Linked DNA regions of Homo sapiens: regions 2, 3, 4 and 5 are each linked to region 1. The links are contacts of gene promoters, found by promoter capture Hi-C in blood cells and fetal thymus (Javierre and others, 2016). All regions are on one chromosome and are shown on one strand. The core of a region is centred on a gene start or on the middle of the fragment in contact, and the rest is flanking DNA. Distances in the headings are between cores, read along the strand shown. Region 1 holds the start of RFC4 (replication factor C subunit 4). Region 2 has its middle 29 kb from the start of TRA2B. Region 3 has its middle 7.8 kb from the start of TRA2B. Region 4 has its middle 46 kb from the start of TRA2B. Region 5 holds the start of ETV5 (ETS variant transcription factor 5).

The links. Contacts are between HindIII fragments. The CHiCAGO score rates a contact against its expected background, and 5 or more counts as called.
Region 2: a contact is called between a fragment that was not itself captured here and the fragment with the promoter of RFC4 in region 1, in 2 of 17 cell types (naive CD8 T cells and total CD4 T cells). The highest score is 8.7, in naive CD8 T cells.
Region 3: a contact is called between a fragment that was not itself captured here and the fragment with the promoter of RFC4 in region 1, in 11 of 17 cell types (naive CD8 T cells, non-activated CD4 T cells, total B cells and 8 more). The highest score is 9.5, in naive CD8 T cells.
Region 4: a contact is called between a fragment that was not itself captured here and the fragment with the promoter of RFC4 in region 1, in 3 of 17 cell types (total B cells, activated CD4 T cells and naive B cells). The highest score is 6.9, in total B cells.
Region 5: a fragment that was not itself captured here is called in contact with the fragment with the promoter of RFC4 in region 1 in 3 of 17 cell types (endothelial precursors, fetal thymus and erythroblasts); the score reaches 8.0 in endothelial precursors.

The regions. Positions count from the first base shown.
Region 1 is chr3:186,805,050-186,807,793 of GRCh38, forward strand. It overlaps RFC4 (replication factor C subunit 4), which reads right to left and starts at 1,433. Exons shown (of 11, transcript NM_002916.5): 1 at 1,241-1,433. RefSeq lists enhancers at 989-1,600, 1,601-2,212. The HindIII fragment of the contact is 2,364 bases long and covers 1-2,066 here.
Region 2 is chr3:185,907,710-185,910,453 of GRCh38, forward strand. No RefSeq gene overlaps it. Among named protein-coding and RNA genes, the nearest start is that of TRA2B, 29 kb to the right of the region's middle. The HindIII fragment of the contact is 3,858 bases long and covers 1-2,744 here.
Region 3 is chr3:185,944,479-185,947,222 of GRCh38, forward strand. No RefSeq gene overlaps it. Among named protein-coding and RNA genes, the nearest start is that of TRA2B, 7.8 kb to the left of the region's middle. The HindIII fragment of the contact is 4,953 bases long and covers 1-2,744 here.
Region 4 is chr3:185,982,440-185,985,183 of GRCh38, forward strand. No RefSeq gene overlaps it. Among named protein-coding and RNA genes, the nearest start is that of TRA2B, 46 kb to the left of the region's middle. RefSeq lists an enhancer at 1,105-1,626. The HindIII fragment of the contact is 7,977 bases long and covers 1-2,744 here.
Region 5 is chr3:186,106,359-186,109,102 of GRCh38, forward strand. It overlaps ETV5 (ETS variant transcription factor 5), which reads right to left and starts at 2,731. Exons shown (of 13, transcript NM_004454.3): 1 at 2,582-2,731. RefSeq lists enhancers at 1,454-1,513, 2,272-2,744 and silencers at 2,284-2,383, 2,414-2,744. The HindIII fragment of the contact is 3,357 bases long and covers 1-2,744 here.

The DNA.
Region 1 (2,744 bases), core at 183-2,682:
ATGATGTTGCTAATGACCAAACCACATGGGCCTCCATGGTTTCTTTCACAGTCATGGGCCTAGCTCTAGCTCAGACCCTGAAATGGACTCTTCGGCAATTAAAGGTGCTCTGCTTGCACCACAAATGAGAACCTTCACTCCTTTCCTTGGGTCAGAACTCAAAGACCTTTTTTTGTTGTTGTTGTTTTTGAGACAGGGTCTCACTCTTTTGCCTAGGATGGAGTGCAGTGGCGGAATCATGGTTCACTGCAGCCTTGACATCCCAGGCTCCTGTCATCTTCCCACTTCAGCCTCCCCAGTAGCTAGGACTACAGGTGCGTGCCACCACCCCCGGCTAATTTTTTAAATTTTTGGTAGAGACAGGGTTTCACCATGTTGCCTAGGCTGGTCTGGAACTCCTGGGCTCAAGTAATCCTCCTGCCCCGGCCTCCCAAAGTGCTGGGATTACAGGTGTGAGCCATCTCGCCTGGCCAGGGACCTATTTTCATGGCAGAGTCAATGCTTACCTACCTTCAGAGACTTTCTGTGGGGAAGGGAAGGTGGGGGACTCTGTTGTTAAAATAGAAACAGCTGTTTTTCTCATAACACACTCACTTGAAGAAATCAAAACAATGCATAAAAGCATGAGAGATTTAAAAAAGTAATACAAAATCCCACCCAGAAGGTAACTATTTCTAACATGCAGGTAAACATTCTTCCAGGCTGTTTTCAGGGATAAAAAGCATCATTAGCTCGCCTGAAAAGTCCCCGGTTAATTCTATTTTTTTCACTGCTACATGCCCTGGTGCCTAGAACAGTGCCTGGTACATGGTAGATGCTCCGTAATATTTGGTGAATGAATTACCATCTATGATACCCGGTTTCCTTTTCTGTTAAAGGAGCTAAGGCCTATTCCACAGGACAACTGAGTTAAATAAAAGAATGTATGCAAATACATAGTTCCTTGCTTGGCATATGGGGATATGCTCAATAAAATAAATTTTTAATATCTGTTAGCAGCCAAGGTTTTTATAACGTTACTGGATTAGTCCATCCCTGCCTCGGGCTGTTAAACATTAATACAGCCCAAAGCCGGGGCCTGCAAGATGCTGTCCGGAACCACCATTTCACCAAAGGGCGCGGCCAGGGCATGAAAGGGCCACTAGGCTGGGGCCCCGAAGGAGGTGGAAGACCTCACAAGGGGCATCAAGGGCAGGAGTGGGGAAGGCGAAGCGGGCTTGCAGTTCCTCCAGCAGGTTACCAGTTAGCCTGGCTTCTCGTGCAGGTCACCGCCGCCGGCTCGTTCCTCAGGTTTCCGCGATACAAAAAGGACGAGATGGTCTCGAAGTCTTAGCTCCGTCACCTAATCTGAGAATAACGGGCCCAGGAGACTTACGATCACTGATGTCCCCACAGTCGCCTCAGTTCCCGCCACGGAACGGCGGGCGAAAAGCAGGGCGGGAATACGCCGGTAGGAATACGCGGGCACGTAACGCGTCACTTCCGGTGCTGGGGCGCGCTGCTTGCGGAGGGAGTTTGCCCGTATACGGTTTTATTTAGGCAGGTGATGAGCCAGCCGGACTTTCAGGCAGAACTGGACTGGAACAGGCATGGCCTAGGAGGTGTCCCTGTCCCGGTGCATTGCTCCCACTTCAGACGTGAGCGCGACCCTCCCGGAAGGAGTAGAGGTCGCGCGGGCACGGCGCTGGGGCTGCTTACCTGGCAGGCTCAGCAATGAGGGCGGGGCGGCGGCGCGCGGGCCTCTGGAACCCTGCCGGTCCACCGAAGGTCCCGAGCCCGCTATCTTCGTAGGTGCGGGCCTCCGGAGGTGCAGGTCCCTGTCCTCCTTGTCCTGCTTCGTCGCAGAGCAGAACGCGTGTGCTTTAAGGGCAGAGACATCTGAAGATGCTTTGCCTTGCCCTCTTGAGGACACGTGGCTTTTACTTCTAATAGTGTCTGCGTGTTGTGGAGAGAGAAGACCATGCAGCTGTGGACATCTATTATAATTCCTGAGCCCCACTTAGAAATCTGGAAGTGAAGGCGTTCAATAAAAGTTAAAGGACTGATAATCATGTTTAGCCCCACCAAGCTTCATGCACAGTGGGCTAGGCTGGTGCCTGAGCCCACTGCTTTTATCTCTTCCAAGTACTTGGTTTAGCTCTGAAATGCTCCTTAATCCTATTGAAACCTGACCCTTCTCAAAGGCCACCTTCTCTACTGGTCTTTACTAATTACTAACCCATAAGGTTGTTCCGGGTCTTCTTCAAATGACTGTTTTGTTTGGCACAAACTCAGCATGATATCCATTGTTAACTTTGTACGTTTTTTTCATTTATCTTGCAACAAATGCTTACAGAATGTCCACGCACTGTGTTAGATGCCTGCAGATACAGCAGGGAAAACGCTCGAGATGCCCTCAAGTAGCTTTACAGACTAGGAGAGTGACAGACAATGTGATGTGTGGTTATGCAGAGGAAGTAGGGGGCTGTGAGAACTTACATCCCAGGCCTAACCCAATCAAGGGTTTAACCAAAGTAAGGATGCTTTATGCTACTTTGTAATTTCCACAGAGTCTGATACAATCTCTGGACAGTATAAAAAACACACAGGTTATCTATCTGGTCACCGGTTTACATTACCATAACTTATCAAACTGTATACTTAATGCTTGTATATTTTATTGTATGTAAATTATACCACAATACAGTTGATAAAACAAGATCTATGAAAATAGATGGTATCCATTTGCTACCTGAAGGAACAGC
Region 2 (2,744 bases), core at 152-2,651, 900 kb before region 1:
CTTGCTGGGTTCAAGTTATTCTGCTGCCTCAGCCTCCTGAGTAGCTGGGACTACAGGTGTATACCACCACACCCGGCTAATTTTTGTATTTTTAGTAGAGACAGGGTTTCACCATGTTGGCCAGGGTGGTCTTGAACTCCTGATCTCAAGTGATCCGCCCACCTCGGCCTCCCAAAGTGCTGGGATTGCAGGCATGAGCCACCACGCCCAGCCTATTTCTTTCTTTTAAAAGACAGAGTTTCCTTATATTGCCCAGGCTGGTCTCGAACTACTGGGCTCAAGGGATCCTCCTGCCTCAGCCTTCCAAAGTGCTAGGATTACAGGTGTCAGCCACCACTCCTGGCCCTACTCTCTTAATAGTGTTTTTAGGTGACTGGAAGTGCTTAACAGCTTTATTAAGATGAAATCCGTCTGCTTAAAGTGCAAAATTCCATCGCTTTTAGTATATTTACAAAGTTAAGTGACCATCACTACAATCAGTTTTAGAATATTTTTCCTCAGGCCCAAAGTGACTGCCATACCTATTAGCAGTCACTTCCCCTTCCTCCTGCAAATTGCCGTGCCTAGGAAACTACTAGTCTACTTTCTCTGCATAGAACTCTCTGTTCTGCATATTTCATATATATTAAATCATGTAATATATGGTCTTTTGTGACTGGTTCCTTTCACTTAAAATGTTTTGAAGGTTCATTCATGTCAGCATGTATCATTACTTCATTCCTTTTTATTGCCAAATAATATTCCATTGTATAGATATATCACTTTATTTATTTATTTATTTATTTATTTATTTATTTATTGAGACGGAGTCTCGCTCTGTCGCCCAGTCCGGAGTGCAGTGGCGCGATCTCGGCTCACTGCAAGCTCTGCCTCCCAGGTTCACGCCATTCTCCTGCCTCAGCCTTTGGAGTAGCTGGGACTACAGGCGCCCGCCACCGCACCCGGCTAATTTTCTGTATTTTTAGTAGAGACGGGGTTTCACCATGTTAGCCAGGATGGTCTCGATCTCCTGGCCTTGTGATCCGCCCGTCTCATCCTCCTAAAGTGCTGTGATTACGGGCGTGAGCCACCGCGCCCGGCCCGGATATATCACATTTTATTAATCAATTCATCAGCTGAAGGAACATTTGGGGTGTTTCTGTTTTTCGGCTATCACTAATAATGCTGCTATGAACATCCACGTACAAATTTTTGTGTGAACCTATGTTTACGATTTTTTGGGTATAAACCCAGGAGTAGAATTGCTGAGTTGTATGGTAATTCTATGTTTAACTTTTACTTATTTATTATTTTTTTGAGACAGAATCTTGCTCTGTCTCCCAGGCTGGGGTGCAGTGGCATGATCTGGCTCACTGCAAACCCCGCCTCCCAGGTTCAAGTGATTCTCCTGCCTCAGCCTCCCGAGTAGCTGGGACTACAGGCACGCACCACCACGCCCTGCTAGGTTTCTTTTTTGTACTTTAGTAGAGATGGGGTTTCACCATGTTGGCCAGGCTGGTCTCGAACTCCTGGCCTCAAGTGATCCGCCTGCCTCAGCCTTCCAAAGTACTGGGATTAGAGGCTTCAGCTATCACCAGTAACTTCTATAAAGCTCAACAAAGGTAAAGTCAAGGGCAAATCTTCTCCCTCAAACCAACTTCTTTCTTTCTTCTCATTTTTAACAGGGCCACTGCGAGCGGCCAGGAGCCCAGGCTCGCAGTCAGCAACTCTTCCTTTCCCATTAACTCCCATAGTCTTTCACAAATTCCTATTTGTCCTTTTTTCCAAATGCCTCTTGCATTTTTTTGAAATGTAACAATTTATTGATCAATATAAATGAAATAAAATTTAGAATTTATTTCCAACTTTGCTATATTGCATAGTAACGAGACTCCATCTCAATAATTATGAATTTCCATATCTAAATCCAAAGATTCTTAGATTTGTAAGAATTTGGAAGTTATTTTCTATCCTCCCATTTTATAGAAAAGCAAACCAATGCCTGGAAAATTAGGCATATTTTAAACGGTCTTACATTAATTAATTGTAAAGAGAGTAATATAATGAAGTCTCCTGTCTTCTAGACAAGTGTATTTTTTTTTTATTTATTTAAGTTCTAGGGTACATGTGCACAACGTGCAGGTTTGTTACATATGTATATATGTTCCATGTTGGTGTACTGCATCCATTAACTCATTTACATTACGTATATCTCCTAATGCTACCCCTCCACCCTCCCCCAACCCCATGACAGGCCCCGGTGTATGATGTTCCCCTTCCTGTGTCCAAGTGTTCTCATTGTTCAGTTCCCACCTATGAGTGAGAACGTGTGGTGGTTTTTTGTCCTTGCAATAGTTTGCTGAGAATGATGGTTTCTAGCTTCATGCATGTCCCTACAGAGAACATGAACTCATCCGTTTTTATGGCTGCATAGTATTCCATGGTGTATATGTGCCACATTTTCTTAATCCAGTCTATCATTGATGGACATTTGGGTTGGTTCCAAGTCTTTGCTGTTGTGAATAGTACTACAATAAACATACATGTACATGTGTCTTTATAGCAGCATGATTTATAATCCTTTGGGTATATACAGTAATGGGATGGCGGGGTCAAATGGTATTTCTAATTCTAGATCCTTGAGGAATTACCACACTCTTCCACAATGGTTGAACTAGTTTACAGTCCCACCAACAGTGTAAAAGTGTTCCTATTTCTCCACATCCTCTTCAGCACCTTTGTTTCCTGACTTTTTAAAGATCGCC
Region 3 (2,744 bases), core at 157-2,656, 860 kb before region 1:
ATCTCTGTATAAAAAGTGACTGAACACCCACTCACTACTTGGAAGTATGAATGTGGAAGTCAAAAACTTTGAGACTTCATTAAGGCAGGTCTTCACGAACCAGCTTAGGACTGAGTGGAAATTAAGAACAACATTGAGTTACTATGCTGACTATGGCTACGTATTGTAGATAATTGAGTTGAAACAACCAATCACTTTCAATGTTCTGAACCCTAAAAAAGGTGGATCACCTAAGGTCAGGAGTTCGAGACCAGTCTGGCTAACATTGTGAAACACTGTCTTTACTAAAAAATACAAAAATTAGCCGGGCGTGGTGGTGCATGCCTGTAATCCCAGCTACTCGGGAGGCCAAGGCATGAGAATCACTTGAACCTGGGAGGCAGAGGTTGCAGTGAGCAGACATCGTACCATTACACTCCGGCCTGGGTGACAAGAGTGAAACTCTGTCTCAAAAAAAAAAAAAAAAAAAAAAAAAAAGAGAGAGAGGCCGGGTGCGGTGGCTCACACCTGTAATCCCAGCACTTTGGGAGGCCGAGGTGGGCGGATCATGAGGTCAGGAGATCGAGACCATCTTGGCTAACTCGGTGAAACCCCGTCTCTACTAAAAATACAAAAAATTAGCCGGGCGCCGTGGCGGGCACCTGTAATCCCAGCTACTCAGGAGGCTGAGGCAGGAGAATGGCATGAACCCGGGAGGCGGAGCTTGCAGTGAGCCGAGATAGCGCCACTGCAGTCCGGCCTGGGCGACAAAGCAAGACTCCTTCTCAAAAAAATAAAAAAAAAAAGAGAGAGAGAGAAGAATGAAATAAAAGACTTTCTCCAGATACTTAAGATAAATCTGGGAAAGAGAGGAAGAGAATAAAAATTAGAATACCCAAATAACAAAATTTAGAGCTCAAACATTAAACATATGAAGAAAATGTTTTGTCTTAGAATTATTATTATGTTACTAATATAGGGTGGGGATAAAAATTCAAACAATAAGAAATGTGCAAAGTGAAAAATGCAAACCCTATTTTCTATCCTCTCTTTCCCAGTCTCGCTCCTCAGAGGTCACCCTAGTTAAAAAATGTAGTGCATAACCTTCTAGACCTTAGATAGATAAATTTAAATTTTTATTTTTATTTTTTTATTATTTATTTATTTATTTTGAGACGGAGTCTTGCTGTCTCCCAGGCTGGAGTGCAGTGGCAAGATCTCGGCTCACTGCAAGCTCCGCCTCCCGGGTTCATGCCATTCTCCTGCCTCAGCCTCCCAAGTAGCTGGGACTACAGGTGCCTGCCACCACACCCGGCTAATTTTTTGTATTTTTGGTAGAGATGGGGTTTCACCATGCTAGCCAGGATGGTCTCGATCTCCTGACCTCACGATCCACCCGCCTCGGCCTCCCAAAGTGCTGGGATTACAGGCATGAGCCACTGAGCCCAGCCTTAAAATTTTCTTTTCATAAACAAATGGAATCATGCTATACATATTTTTTATTTTTTAATTTTTATTTATTATTTTTTTGAGACAGAGTCTCACTCTGTTGCTCAGGCTGTTGTCTCGAACTCCTGACTTCAGGTGACCCACCCGCCTCAGCATCCCAAAGTGCTGGGATTGCAGGCATGAGCCACCATGCCCCGCTCATATTTTTAAATTTTAACATGGTATTCTGTAACTTGCCTTTTTCACTTAGCAATCTAAAATATGCTAAATATTGTTCCACGTCAGTACACATAGATTTATCTCATATTTTAAAACAGTTGTATGGTATTCCGTTGCAAATATGTGCCATAACCTATTATACCATTCCTATTTATGGAGACCTGGAGGGTGAGAAGCCAGCCATTTAAAAAGCAGAGAAAACTGTGTTCCTGGGAAGGGATTAGCAAGGTCACAAAGGCACTGGGGTGAGGATGTTTGTCGGGTTCCAGGAACAGAGAGACCCAACCATGGGATCCCAGTGGGTCCATCTGAGGACCAGAGACTGTGGTACAGAGAGCAGGGCTTGGACTTCCTGGGGTTGTTTCCTGCCTCCACAGTAGCTCTCTGAGAGACCCTGGGCAAGTGTAACCTCTGTGCCTCTGTGGCTTCATCTGTGAAATAGGAATGATAATAATACCTACTTCCTATGCTTGTTGTCAGGATCCAAAGAATTACTATTTTACATAAAAAGCCCTTAGAACAATGTCTAACTCATAATAAGTCAGCAGTGATTATGCAGGTCATGGAAAGGATGTCAGATGTTATTTAAGTGCAGTGGGGGCTGGGCACGGTGGTTCACACCTGTAATTCCAGCACTTTGGGAGGCCAAGGCAGGTGGATGGGTCACTTGAAGTCAGGAGTTCGAGACCAGCCTGGCCAACATGGCGAAACCCCGCCTCTATTAAAAAAATACAAAAATTAGCCAGGCGTGGTGGCAGGCACCTGTAACCCCAGCTACTCGGAAAGCTGAGGCAGGAGAATCTCTTGAACCCGGGAGGCAGAGGTTGCAGTTAGCCAAGATCGTGCCACTGCACTCCAGCCTGGGCAATAGAGTGAGACTTTGCCTCAAAAATAAATAAATAATTAAATAAATGCAATGGGAAGCTATCGAAATGTTTTAATTAGGGGGAATGTCTTGACTCAGTTTTTATTTTTATAAGATTACATTCCCCATTGGATGGAGAATGGGTTGGAAGGAGGTAAAAGCTAGGATACCAGTTAGGAAGCTATTGCATTTGTCCAGGTAAGAGACCATTGCAACACAGTAATAGCAAAGG
Region 4 (2,744 bases), core at 86-2,585, 820 kb before region 1:
ATGCCCGGACTTCCTCATCTCTTAAAAAAAAAAAAGGAAGAAAGAAAAGAAAAAAAAGAAGACTGAGACAGGCCAGGGCTGTCATGGATCAGTCCCAACAATTGTTCCTGGAAAGCATGAGAAGTCCTTCCAGGATTTAGAACCAAACTTTGCAGTGGCTGATCTGAAATGAGACTGTGCACTTTAGGGACCTCAATCTCACATAACAAAGAAGGGAAAATAACTTCCAACTAGTCTGAGACATTTTAATATTTGTTGACAGTGGACAAAAGATTCCACCCACTATCCTCTCCCAGTCCTGCCCAACAGTCTCCAGGCCAAAGGAGGGAAAGGATTCCCTTTGCAGTTGTTCAGGTAGAGACTTGGGGACCCAAGAGAGGCACAGAAGGTGGAAATAGGGCCGTGCATCTCAGTGAACAAGAGCACCCTTTGTTGTCCAGGAGTAGATTAGGGTTGGGGGTGTGGGCGATGGAATAGAAAGGATGCAGAAGATCTCTCTCCGTGATTCCAGAAATGACCCTAGAAATTCAAGCTACAAAGTCAGATAATCCTGGATTTGATTGCCTCTGCCACTGACAAGTTGTGTGAACTTGGTCAAGTTACTTGATTTCTAGGCTTGGTCTCCCCATCCTCACTGGGGACTGCTGGGGGGACTGAAAGATTGAAAGCATGAGAGGCACTTTGTATAGTCTTTGCCAGGTAGTAAGTGCTCAAGAAACAGCTGTAATTATTCTCTCTTCTCTCTCTCTCTCTCTCTCTTTTTTTTTTTTTTTTTTTTTTTTTTTTGAGACAGAGGCTCTTGTTGTCCAGGCTGGAGTGCAATGGTGCAATCTTGGCTCACTGCAACCTCCGCCTCCCGGGTTCAAGCGATTCTCTCTTGTCTCAGCCTCCCGAATAGCTGGGATTGCAGGCGCGCGCTGCCACGCCCAGCTAATTTTGTATTTTTGGTGGAGACAGGGTTTCTCCATGTTGGTCAGGCTGGTCTCGAACTACTGACCTTAGGTGATCTGCCCTCCTCGGCTTCCCAAAGTGTTGGAATTACAGGCATGAGCCACGGCGCCCGGCAAAAAAACAGCTATAATTATTGTTGAGCATAATTCCTCCCCTTGCCTCCTTCATATGCCTCCCAAAATTCTGAAGTGCCCCCTGGGCGGTTCCCAGTGTCGCCTGACCTTGGCCTCCTGGACTGCAGGTTCATCTTGCTCTAACCGCCCGCTGCCCGGTGTCCCGTCCCTTCCCAGCTTCCTTCTCCCACCACTAGATGGCAGTATGAGTCCAGCATAAGAAAGGATCGCTCCAGCCTCATCCCAGGTGATTTTTTCCCCGGGCTTTTTTGGGGAATAAAGCCAAAGGAGATAGTTATACGGCGCATCTTAAAGCCTTGTCGGTTACCCTCCGTGGCCATTTCGACAGACATGCGCTGGTCACCTTCTCTGGGGTGAAGTGCCTTCTCCGTGCCGGATTTGAGATTAAGGGAAGGAAAGGGAGGACCAAGGGATTATCCAAAGACTCCAGCACTGGCTCGCCCCATGCAGAGGAAGGCCCTCAGGCTAAGGGTGAGCCTTCTGCATAGAGGGGTCTCAGACCCTGCTCCAGGAGTGCAGAGCACAGGGCCTGCCCTTTCTCCGCCTGGCAGCCGGGGCCGAGCCTTGCTGGATGCTGGTGCTCCTGCTGCTGGCTTCTCCGCTGGCCACACTGCTTGTCATCCTCTCCCCAACCCAAGGGACCTTTGCAACTCTGAAATCCCATCAAGACTACACAAGGGGCAGAGACAATTCACTAAAAGGAAACTGGGGCACTGTTAGGAAGTGCGTATTGAACGGCCCTCAGGCACTGTCCATTCTCCCAAGTAACAGAGCAGAACACTCTGGCAATGTAGTCCTGACTTGGACTCCTCATAGGAGTGAGCAGGAAGGCAATAACATGAATTTTAAACCATCTCGAGTAGAAGTTGCTATAGCATTTCTTTCTCCTTCCTTCCTTCCTTCCTTCCTTCCTTCCTTCCTTCCTTCCTTCCTTCCTTCCTTCCTCCCTCCCTCTCTCTCTTTTTTTTCTTTCTTTCTTTCTTCTCTCTCTCTCTCTCTTTCTTTCTTCTCTTTCTCTCTCTTTCTTTTCTTTTTTTTTTGAGATAGAGTCTTGCTCTGTCACCCAGGCTGGAGTGCAGTGGCGCGATCTCGGCTCACTGCAACCTCCGCCTCCCGGTTCAAGTGATTCTCCTGCCTCAGCTTCCTGAGTAGCTGGGATTACAGGCGCCCCGCCACCACGTCTGGCTAATTTTTGTATTTTTAGTAGAGACGGGGTTTCACCATGGTGGCCAGGCTGGTCTTGAACTCCTGACTTCATGATCCGCCTGCCTCGTCCTCCCAAAGTGCTGGGACTACAGACGCGAGCCACTGCACCTTGGCTGCTATAGCATTTCTGACGGGCTGCCCCGCTGAGTGTTGCAAGAGGATTAAAAATGTACACACCCTTTACTTGGCAAAACTCCTAAGAAACCATCTTAAGTAAATAAACACAAATATAGATAAAAATATAATTTTGAGGATTTTATATGAAAGTATTTTTTCATGAGAGCAAAAATATAGAAGTAAGCAAAATGTTCAGCATTTAAGAAATGGATAATTAAATTATTGAAGTTTAAAAATTCCTTTAAACTGTAAATTCTTTAGAACTAGCATTTGTGACGAATTTTTACTGAGAAAAATTATGTTTTAAGTGAAAAATATTGGATTATATCCAGCATT
Region 5 (2,744 bases), core at 149-2,648, 700 kb before region 1:
ACTGGGTTTAAGTATTCCAAATTATTGGCAATTAAAGATCTGACATACATGGTGTTTCCAAAAGCATTTTGTAGGTCACTGTTAAAACACTATATATAGTTCCTGGAATAAATTGATCAGAGGTATACTTATCTTCACACACAACTCTTTATTTAAAAGAGGACTAAACAGATATAGCATCTGTAATGTCACAAATATCTCCCTGGTTACTTACAGAGATATTTGTGACATCTCCAACTTCTAAAAGAGTAAAATGTCTATGAAAAGTAATGGATTAAAAAAACTAATTCCATTGCATGTGGTACAATGCATCTCTACCAAAGGTCTTTTAAAACTTAGGCTGTTTCATATAGCGGAATCATTTTTTTCTAGACATACCCCCCCACCCCCAAATGAAACTCATTTCAGGACGGGTAAGTGTGTGAGTCTGGGGAAAAAGGGTGGGGTTAGAAGGGAGAAAACTTCTCCTAACGTGAGTGGAATAAAGTAACAATTTCAGGGAGGTACCATCTTCCTAAACACTTTTATTCTTCAAATAAAAACACCGTTAAGTCAACAAAAGGTGGAAAAACATTAATTTCACTCACTCCAGCTCTAAGCAATTCAAAATGCTTAAAGGTCAACTTCTTTTGTTTGACATATACACAATTTTAAACAGGAAACTTTTCCCCCGGTGAGCAATTCCATCCAATTTGTTTTTCACACTGTGTGTAGCATATCAAATTTTTCATAAGTGGGCAGGATACAAGGACACCCTTCACAGCCAGCATCCTCCGCAGCACTTTGGCCCAAGGAATCAGATATTTTCAAAGTCAAAGGAAAGAGAGGAGCAAAATAGCACACAGTTCATAACTTCCTAGAAAAACACTCGCGCCAGCCTGCCTGCGTGCCCCGTCCAAACACCACAAGAAATGTTCAGAATAACGCCTCTCTCAAATGCCACCAAACCGTATACAAAATCTGAGAAACCTCAGCAGTGAGTTGAGGGGCATGAAAGAGAGAGTGCTCTGTCGCTTAGGAAAATCTGTCAGATTAAATCATGGCCTAAGACATTTTGTGAATGTGTTAGGAGGAAGGGGACAACCAGTAGAAGACGGGAGGGGGAGATATTTTTCAGTCTCATGATGAAATACTTCACCCGGAAGAGCAAAAAAAATTCTAAAAAATTAAAAGAAATAAACTGCCATAAACGAACGGAAAAGAGGCATTCCAGGGTTAGAAAAATTGTATTCCAAGTATAATTTTTTTAAAAGCCTGAAGGAAAGGCTCGAGTTCATCCAGGAGTTTAAACCACTTCCTTTGCCCCCCCACCACCCGCGCCCCGGGCGCCCCCAGGAAAACTTTAGCACAGCGCAGCGGCGCGATCCAGGCCCCTCCCCTGTGGCGCGCAGCGGGCCCGGTTTTATGAATGGGAGAGCGAGCCGCGGCCGCCACATCAGGTAGAGGCTGTAACTGGATCTCTAGCGCTGGGCCCCATTCACAAAACAAGACACACTTCCACCCAATTCTCAGCCTTCCCCATTCATGAAAACTCCTTCAGCTGCGCCCCCGCCCCCATTTCCAACGCACGCCCAGCCTCCGACGCAGGCCCCTCACCCCAGCGTTTTAGGAAGAAAGCTCAATGCTTCATTCACAAAAAGGGAAGAAAAAAAAAAAAGCCGCAGGGAGCAGCGAGCCAACGAAAGAAACCCGCTTCATTCATAAAGTCACCCACATTCATAAAAACGAGGTGCGGCGCCCGGCGCTACCAACCGCTTCCAATCCCCCCACCCCCAACATCTCTCCCTGGCACCCCCTCGTCGACCAGGAGTTCGGTTCCCCCCCGAGTTTTCTCCACCCTCTGAAAATGCGGCCGGAACCCTAATCCGCTGCGAGGCTGCAGCATCTTTCGGTGCTGTCCCCTCCACACCCGTGTTATCCCCACCATCCCCAGGCCGCTGTTCCGGTGCGCCCCGATTTTCTCGAGTCGCCGCACAGCCGGACGCCCTCAGCCTGCTGGGTGGGAGCAGGGCGACTGGATGTCCACTTTCCACCACCTGAAACTTGCAAGGCCTGCGTAAGTTCCTGGTCGACCCCCGCCCCCGCAGGCTGCACTTGCCTGTGTCATTTACCCCCTCCCGGTGCTCTGGGGGGCAGCGCCTCTCAGACATTCCCCTCAAACTGCTTCCCGCCCCCTCCTCCCAACTGCGGAGCTCCGCCAAGCGTCTCTTCTCGCGAGCCTCCAAGTCCCCTCGGGGCTCTCGAATCTCCAGAGACTGTGAAAGCCTCGCAACTCCGCGATCCCCCATCCACTCGGGAGCCCCCGCACTCGCGCTCCGGGGCGCCTCCCCCACGACGTGTGGAAAGCCGCTCTCCCCGCGCTCCGGAACCGTTAGCCGCACCCGCCCGACGCCTCCCAGGAACCAAACCGGACCGGGCCGCGGGGGGAGGGGGCGGTCAACCCGGGGGGGGTCACCCCAGCTACTGCACCCCGACTTTGAAGATTCTGAATCAGCCCGTGAACTCTAGCCGGCTGGGCCTGTCGGACCAGTGGCCGGACGCCCCTTCCGATCTCCCCCCTGCCCCCGCAAAGCCCCCTCACCTGAGGCGGCCTCTCTCCTCCCCTTGCAGCGGCCCCGGCGGCGCAGGCGCGCTCACGCACGCGCGCAGCGGGCCTGGGCGCCTGGGCGAAAGGCTGGGCCGAACCGCTCCGAAGACGGTGAACCGCTCCGCGCACCAGCGGCTGGACTCTGCGCCGCAGCTGC